Linked DNA regions of Homo sapiens: regions 1 and 2 are each linked to region 3. The links are contacts of gene promoters, found by promoter capture Hi-C in blood cells and fetal thymus (Javierre and others, 2016). All regions are on one chromosome and are shown on one strand. Each heading gives the region's core, a stretch centred on a gene start or on the middle of the fragment in contact. The rest is flanking DNA. Distances are from core to core; before and after follow the strand shown. Region 1 overlaps LOC107987026 (a long non-coding RNA gene). Region 2 has its middle 26 kb from the start of MTAP. Region 3 holds the start of KLHL9 (kelch like family member 9).

What was found. Contacts are between HindIII fragments. The CHiCAGO score rates a contact against its expected background, and 5 or more counts as called.
Region 1: a fragment that was not itself captured here is called in contact with the fragment with the promoter of KLHL9 in region 3 in 2 of 17 cell types (M2 macrophages and M1 macrophages); the score reaches 6.5 in M2 macrophages.
Region 2: a fragment that was not itself captured here is called in contact with the fragment with the promoter of KLHL9 in region 3 in 7 of 17 cell types (non-activated CD4 T cells, naive CD8 T cells, total CD4 T cells and 4 more); the score reaches 9.0 in non-activated CD4 T cells.

The regions. Positions count from the first base shown.
Region 1 is chr9:21,754,989-21,757,688 of GRCh38, reverse strand. All of the region lies in intron 1 of LOC107987026 (a long non-coding RNA gene), which reads left to right. Among named protein-coding and RNA genes, the nearest start is that of MTAP, 46 kb to the left of the region's middle. The HindIII fragment of the contact is 2,458 bases long and covers 53-2,510 here.
Region 2 is chr9:21,775,252-21,778,215 of GRCh38, reverse strand. No RefSeq gene overlaps it. Among named protein-coding and RNA genes, the nearest start is that of MTAP, 26 kb to the left of the region's middle. The HindIII fragment of the contact is 3,504 bases long and covers 1-2,964 here.
Region 3 is chr9:21,333,966-21,336,722 of GRCh38, reverse strand. KLHL9 (kelch like family member 9) reads left to right here and starts at 1,319. Exons shown (of 1, transcript NM_018847.4): 1 at 1,319-2,757. The coding sequence starts at 1,864. LOC107987053 (a long non-coding RNA gene) reads right to left here. Exons shown (of 3, transcript XR_001746634.2): 3 at 1-102. RefSeq lists a silencer at 1,130-1,299 and enhancers at 1,340-1,649, 1,840-1,889. The HindIII fragment of the contact is 830 bases long and covers 1,029-1,858 here.

The DNA.
Region 1 (2,700 bases), core at 32-2,531, 420 kb before region 3:
GGGTCCTGACACAAGGCTTTTTGAGGATTAAGTAGATTTTAGTCATCAAGCTTGATTCCAGCTAGGGCTTTGATATGTTTTCTTTATGTCAGATAATATATGTTTTTTTTTTAAAGAAGTATGATTTCTCTAGGGCAGATGTTTGATGGAAATTTATGGGCAAATTAGATCATCACTGAACTGATTTATTCTCTTGGTGTGTAACATTTAAATATTGATTGTGAGAGTCTCTGCCTTCAAAGAACTTATAGGCTAGTTATTGAGACACACAGCAAATTACAATATAATGTTGAAAATGCTATCAGTGCAATGGGAATCCATAGCAAGGGGTGCCTCAGTAAGATACTTGGGGGTAGGGGATAGGAAGACTGCAGCTTGGGCAGCATCTGTGTTGTCCCGGTAAAGGGAAAGTTATTAGTAGGTGAAGGACCTTAAGAGTGAAGCTAACACAGCCTTGGTGCTGAGGTGAAGGGTGCACACAACTAATACCTAATGATATGTGATAAGAAGCGCAGTGAGAAGTGTGGATCAGATTAGATACCTGGAAAATAGTGGAGAACCAGAAATTATTGAAAGATTACTGTTGATCCCAGTGCTCTTCAGTATAGCTTCAATGCACTTTCAAGGAGATCAGTGTGCACATCAACTTCCTTCGTTTGCCTGCACAGAGACTTTCATCTGAGTGGGCCAAAGTTAGACTCAACCATTCAGGGCCTGAGATTCATTTCTTAAGACCAGTGCTGTTCAAGAGAAATATAATATAATGCATGCCATGTGAGCTACATATGCAATTTTTTTTTACCAGTCACATTAGAAAAATAAAAAGAAACAGGTGAAATTAATTTTACTAATATACTTCAACTCAATAGATCAAAATATCTCAACAAGTAATCAACATAAAAATTGAGATGTTTTGCTTTTTGATACTGATATATTTTATATATATGTAGATATATATATAGGTATTTATACTGTCTCCTAAATCCAGTGTGAAGTTTTACACTCACAGCACATCTCAATTCAGATTATTCACACTTCAGATACACAATAGCAACATGTGGCTGGGGGTTACTGACAAATTAAAGCTACCCAGACCACTCCCTGCACAAGAGTATAACTGTGTTTTGGTTCATCTCTTCACCAGTTAAGGATGCCGAATCCTATGATGTCCTAGAAATCATTCTGTTACTCAGGCATTTACTCATTCATTCATGCCCTTGTTCTTAGAACAAACATTTATTGAGCACCTCCTATATGTGAAATACTTCACTGTGAGAAGGGGAACATTGACCATAAAAATGAATAATACCATCTAGTATCAGAAAGAGAGGCGGAAACAAATATTCACAAGATGTTATGACAACAGTAATAAGTGGAGCAGTGAAGCAGTGATTGTCCATGGAATAGGAAGTGGATATGCCAGAGTTTATGCTGGGGTAGGGGTGGGGAAGGGGAGTTGTGGGTGTTTCAAATTAAACTCATACCCTGGAAATTTCAACCTCACAAGAGAGAACCATTGTTGCCTCACCCATAGAAAGCCCCTTCTCATATAAAACCCCACTGAGACAGCATTACTGATAGGATCATGCCAAATCCCAGGGGTGCTAATGTGCAAAGAAGGTTGCAGGACATTGAATTAAGAGGATATGCAAATTTCTATGGGACACTGGGGGGATTCTGAAGGACTTCATTGAAAAGGTGGTATTTTTGTTGCATTTTGAAGGATAAGTTTATCAATTTAAAGAAGAGCATTCTAGGAAGAGGATACAAAGAATACAATGTGCAAAGGCACGTAAGTGGGGAAGGAGGAAATGTATTATGTTTAGTAAACAATAAAGATTCATATAACTGCATCGTAGGGTGGTGTGTGTGTGTGTGTGTGTGTGTGTATGTGTGTAAAGTGGGTTAGACATGTTTGATAATATAGTTTGGGACTATATTTTGATGAGTAATGTGTACTCCATTAAAAAGTTCTCACCCTGTGTTTTAGGGAATTAACATTATTTCTCCCCACAATCAATACTTTCTTCATAGTCAAATTCAAATTTCAGGAAAATCCTTGATTAGAATTATATCTCTTTGGCTTCTCTTCTACCCCTATCTCTTTTTTTCTGGACAACTGAATTTTCAGACATTAATATGAACCAGTGACTGAAAAACATTTCCTCTGTCAACTAATTTATCTTCTTACTGAATGAATAATCAAATTCAATTGGATTAAACAAGCTGTAATACCACTGTCAAAAGCCATTAGCAATATAAGAGCTTCAAGCCATAAAGAACTATTTTTGTATATCTTAGAGTTTTCTTCATGAAAGGAAAAACTCAAACTAAAGGAAATAATGTGTGTCATTACAAGCTCTGAGTCCTTTAGGGTCTTCTCATCAGCTCTGTGGTTTATTTATTTTTTCTTTTCTTTTTGTCAAGATTAAGAGTAGTGCTGTCTACTTGATTATCTCAAAAGTACAATGTTTTCTTGGCAGGATTAAAAACCTGGATGTATCAAAGCTTGCACATTATTCGAATTTTGAAATAAAAAACAATGAGGGGACATAATGAAAACCAAGGAGGAGGGGTGGGGAACTTGATACCCCCTTCTTCCTTTTGAGAGATCATTTTATCCACTTCCTGGAGCTATTGTACCTTCCCTGAAAGAATGACACCTTACATTTCCTAAATTTGTATCTCGGCCAATTTCCT
Region 2 (2,964 bases), core at 319-2,818, 440 kb before region 3:
CTCCCAGGCTCCTTTCACACCACCTCAAGCACCTAGCTCCTCAACCTGCTTCATCATCACATACCACCCAAGGATCCTATCCCAAGAAGGAGGATATACTTAGAATTAATTTTCCACCTTTCCTTTAGAGGCGATGGAACTAATCATCATGTTTCATACTCCTTTTGGCCTCAGTCACCATAGAAGTCCAAGCATTCCAGGTCACCACAGGAACTCTCCTCCATATGTTTCTGTATATCCCTTGATCTGACTCAATCTCCCATTCCTTCCAAAACTGCAATCCCTTCCAATGCAGCTGCTAGAATTCAGGGCTTGGGAAGCACAGTCTCTTTTATTTTCCAACTCTTCTTTGAACAACACCTTCACCTTCTTGCTCTAAGCCCTGGCTCACCACCCAACCCAACCCATATCCTGTTTACCTTCAGCCTTTGCAGGGGGTGGTGGTTTTTGCTCCCACACCCTATGCTTCCAGGTCCTGGAGGTGGGGATAGGAATGTTCCTTATTTCTCATTGTTTTTCTTCTTTCAAAAACCCTTCATCTCCTATCTTCCAAGCCATTCCACTTCATGATGGAAGATTTTAGCAGCTGGCTCATTGCATTTCCTTCTACCATGACTCCTGTCATCATATTTAATGACTTCAAAATTTATGTATGTCATTATTTTTCAAATTTGGCTGCACATTTTTATTACCTCATGATGTTTTAAAAATCCTACCTGTGTTCAGTTCATCCCCCAAGCCAAACAGGTACTGATTTAATTTAGTCAAGGTAGGATTTAGCCACTAGATTTTGTTTTGCTCTAAAAAAAAAAAAAAAAAAAAAAACCCCACAACACCTATGATCTCAATATGCAGCAGGGTTCAGCACTACTTACTTAGATCAGTTTCTCAGTAAGCCTTTTCAATTATTTGACCTTCTGACTCCAACATCTCTTTCTTTCCCCAACCCCATCATGTTCACCCTAGTCATACCCTAGAGTTTGTCATTATAAGTAGCCTCCAATATCTAGTTTTTCATCATTCCACTTTCTGATATTCACAGCATCTCTTTCTGACTCCTCTCTTAAGTACAACATCATTCAAGTAATCCATGGACCCACTCCCAGTCTTTGTCCTAATCATCTCCCTCGCTTTTCTTTACCTTTTTCCCTACTCGTCTTAGATTCCATGGTTTGTCACTATAACTCTTCTCTATGTACCCTCAACTCTTTTGTCCTTCTCTCTCTCCATTATATTTGCCTAGCAAAACCCAAACCCTGGTTATATTTAACTCTGCTTAATCTATATCTGCATTCAGGCAGCTAAATGGGATGAGAGAACAACACACACATTTACTTTACATTTTGGCCACAAATCTCTGGTGGGTCCTCAGCACTTCAATAAATTTTTTATAGTAGAATTCTCTGGTCAGTTCTTTGTCCAGACAACTGTTTGATATCTTCCCCCCTTTTTAAACCTCCAACATTCCCTCCTTGTCTTCACTCTCAGCTGATAACCTAGATTTTTATTTCATAAGAAAATAGAAGTAAGCAGAAGAGAACTACTTCCTTTTCCCTTTACCAAATCTACCAACCTCCTTGCTCCACACCCAAGTGTTCCATCTTCTCTTTGGTCACAGACGATAAACAGCTCCTGCAGCCTGGCTTCTCACCCCCTTCCACCTGTGCCAGGGCTTTACTCCTCTAATCATCTTTTTTCTCCTGAACATGACTCTCCCTTCTTACTGTAGATCATTCCCATCAGCTTACAAATAGACCCCCATCTCAGCAAAACAAACCCAATCCTTTCCTAGACTTCTGGTTGCACTCTAGCTCCAGTTGCATTCCTCAACTCTTCTTCATAGCAAGTTTCTTGAGACTTTTCTGTACTCGCTCTCACTTTCTCACTTCTCATCTCTTTAGCCCACTCAAGTTGGGATTTAGTCCTCATCACTCTCCTGAAATTGCTCTGTCAAAATCACCAGCAATCTCCCTGTTGCTAAGAGCAGCAGTTAATTTTCAATCTTCATTTTATGCAGCCTCACAGCAGATTTGGCACAATCATCATCCACCCTGAAGCATTTTCTTCTCGAGCCCTTCTGGATACCACTATCTCCTAGTTGTTGTTCCATCACACAGCTGTTGCATCCTGGTTTTCTCTGCACACTCTACCTTTCTCAATATTAGAGCACTCCAGCTTGATGTTCTTGCTTGGTCCTGCCTTCTTCACTGCCTGTACTCACTCCCTAGACCATTTCATCCAGGCACATGGCCTCACACAGCATCTTCATGCTGATGATAATCCCCCTCCGTCCTTTCTCCTAAGCTCTAGGTTTAAATATCCAATTGCCTAGTAGGTACATTCATTTGTGTATCTAAGAAGCATAACATGTTAAAACCAAAATTTTTTTTTCTTCTCACATCTGCTCTTTATATGGATTCCCCTTGGCTTATCCATCCCCTAAACTGCACAATCAAATGTCTAGGCACTATCCTTTTTCTTTATTTTCTCAAATTTGACTTTTTTCCTTCTCTTTTCCTTCCTTCCTTCCTTCCTTCTTTCCTTCCTTCCTTCCTTCCTTCCTTCCTTCCTTCCTTCCTTCCTTCCTTCCTTCCTTCCTCTCTCTCTCTCTTTCTTTCTTTCCTTCTTTTTTTTCTTAAAGCTCTTACTCTATCACCCAGTCTGGAGTGCAGTGGCATGGTAACGGCCCACCACAGCTTTATCTTCTCGGGCTCAAGCAATCCTCCCACCTCAGACTCCCGAGTAGTTGAGACTACAGGTATGCACCAGCACACGTGGTTATTTTTTTCTATTTTTTGTAGAGATGGGGTGTCTTGCTATGTTGCCTGGGCTGATCTTGAACTCCTGGGCTCAAGCGATCTTCCTGCCTCAGGCTTCGTAAGTGCTGGGATCATAGGCAAGAGCCATGGTGCCTGGCTCACATTTGGCATATCTATCATCAACAAGTCTTGTCACCTCTACTTC
Region 3 (2,757 bases), core at 70-2,569:
TTTCATTCCAACCAACCTCTTGTGTTGAATAAGGTGACAATCTGCTGGAGCACCTTGTGGAGGACAGTGGTAGTCTAAGCCTTCTGAATTTTGCTGCCATCCCTTGGAAACAATAGAAAACATTCAAAACAGATGAACTGCCCATCAACAGGGCACTGGTTAAATAACTTATGATGTAACAACTCAGAAGGCAACAACAGAATTGTTTAAAAATATAAATAAGCCCTCTACACTAATTCAGGAAGATCTTGAAGTGAAAAAAAAAGATGCAGAACAGTGTACATGGTATGCTATCTTTTACATAAAAACGAGGCGAGTGTAAGAAAAACATGACTACATTCTTACTTTGCATATGCATAAAGAACTAGAAGGATTTAAAAGACAGAAACTTCAAAATTTGGAAAATGGAAGAAATTGTGTCAAAGTATACATTTATTTGTATGTCAAAATTTAAATTTACCACTAATTAAAGAAATGCAAGTTAATAAAATACTCACAAAGGGAAAAGTCAGAAGAAGGGAAAGACACAAACATTGTTGGTGATAATATTTTGGAAATATTGTCTTGGATCAGTATTTTACTAAATATTATCCATAACAGGGCTAAAATTTTGCTACCAGATTGTATAAGTTTACTACCGAGTCTATAAAACAATGGAGGATAAGAAGGTACACATTCAGGAACAAACCAATGGGCAAAGGAAACTATAGTATGTATAGTTATTGGAAAATTATGTAGCCATTTTTAAAATTGTGGAAAACAAAGGCATTTCAAGCCAAAAATTTAGAATATATCATTTACATAATAAAGTAACAATCTAGTAAAGACAAATATTTTGCGTTTGAAATTGTAACAAATTTGAAAATATGAACCAAAATTGTAACTGAAGTATCTACTACATAATGTGGGATAACAATTATTGTTTTGTAGAGGAAAAAAAAAATTAAGCATCCAGGTTTCCTCTCAATTTATACAAATGCCGCATTTCACTGTTATTCAAAAAAACAGAAGCTAGGAAGCGTAAAGCTTTGAAAAATTATGCATTTGGGGAACGTAAGAGCTCAGATATGCGAAAAACTTATATCAAACGTGCAGCATAACACACTTGCTTGCACACATTCTGTCCTATTTGGTCCCACATACAAGGCAGCTCTAAGAGGCCGGGCTGGCGCCCACCCCACACAGCTCCGCTTCCCCAACCCTCGCCCTCCCGCCTCCCGGGTACTTCCTCCCCCTTCCCCACCCCCACCCTCCCGCTGACTGACGAGGTCTGGAGGCCGCGCAGCCGCAGTAGCCGCTAAGGCCGCTCCCACCCCGTGGTATCCTGGGACTAGGCTTTTCCGGAAGGAGCGGCTCGGTGTTGGGGCTAGGCCGGTATTCTAGGCCCAAGCCCAGGCCCAGGCCTGTGTTCCCGGCCCTTGCTCAAAGACAGGCCGGTGGCCGCTGCGACACTCTAGGTACAGCGGAGGGCGCAGCGGGCCGTTCGCTGAGGTGTCCGGACCCGCCGCCGAGCGGGCCGTGGAGCCACAGTACGTGGCGGCGCCTCTTCCTTGCCCGAAGCGGAACTGCTGAAGGAGCGGCAGCGCAGGCCGGACGAGGTGAACCAGGTCATTTAACCGCCTTCAGGTGATGAATCATCTGTCTAATAATCAGATTTGAGGTCCACAGCCCTTTGTGGTCCTGCTACAGGGTGATTTTCAGTGGATGACTGACTGGCGTGGCCCGAGGGGTGCCGCAGTGACTGCCTTCCCTTGATAAGGAAACGAGCTTTCTGTTCTTTCTGGACACCTCGTTACCTGTAAAACATTCCGGTTATAACTTCTTTATCCGGCTTGCATCTCTGTGCAAGAGGAAAGCTTTCACATGAAAGTGTCCCTTGGTAACGGCGAAATGGGCGTCTCTGCCCATTTGCAGCCTTGTAAGGCAGGAACCACACGCTTTTTTACCAGCAATACTCACAGTTCGGTGGTATTGCAAGGCTTTGATCAGCTTAGAATAGAAGGATTGCTTTGTGATGTGACCCTGGTACCAGGTGATGGAGATGAAATCTTCCCTGTTCACAGAGCTATGATGGCGTCTGCTAGTGATTATTTCAAAGCCATGTTCACAGGTGGAATGAAAGAACAAGATTTGATGTGCATTAAGCTTCATGGGGTGAACAAGGTTGGTCTGAAGAAAATCATTGATTTTATTTATACTGCAAAACTTTCTCTTAATATGGACAATCTTCAGGACACACTTGAAGCTGCTAGCTTTTTACAAATATTACCCGTTTTGGATTTCTGTAAAGTATTTCTTATATCAGGAGTCTCTTTGGATAACTGTGTTGAGGTTGGACGAATTGCTAACACCTACAATCTTATAGAAGTGGATAAATATGTTAATAATTTCATCCTGAAGAACTTTCCTGCTTTATTGAGTACTGGGGAGTTTCTAAAACTCCCTTTTGAACGACTTGCATTTGTGCTTTCCAGTAATAGTCTTAAGCACTGTACCGAACTTGAACTCTTTAAGGCAGCCTGTCGCTGGCTAAGGTTGGAAGACCCTCGGATGGATTATGCTGCAAAGTTAATGAAGAATATTCGATTTCCACTGATGACACCACAGGATCTCATCAATTACGTGCAGACAGTAGATTTCATGAGAACAGACAATACCTGCGTGAATTTGCTTTTGGAAGCTAGCAATTACCAAATGATGCCATATATGCAGCCAGTGATGCAGTCAGATAGAACTGCCATTCGATCTGACTCCACT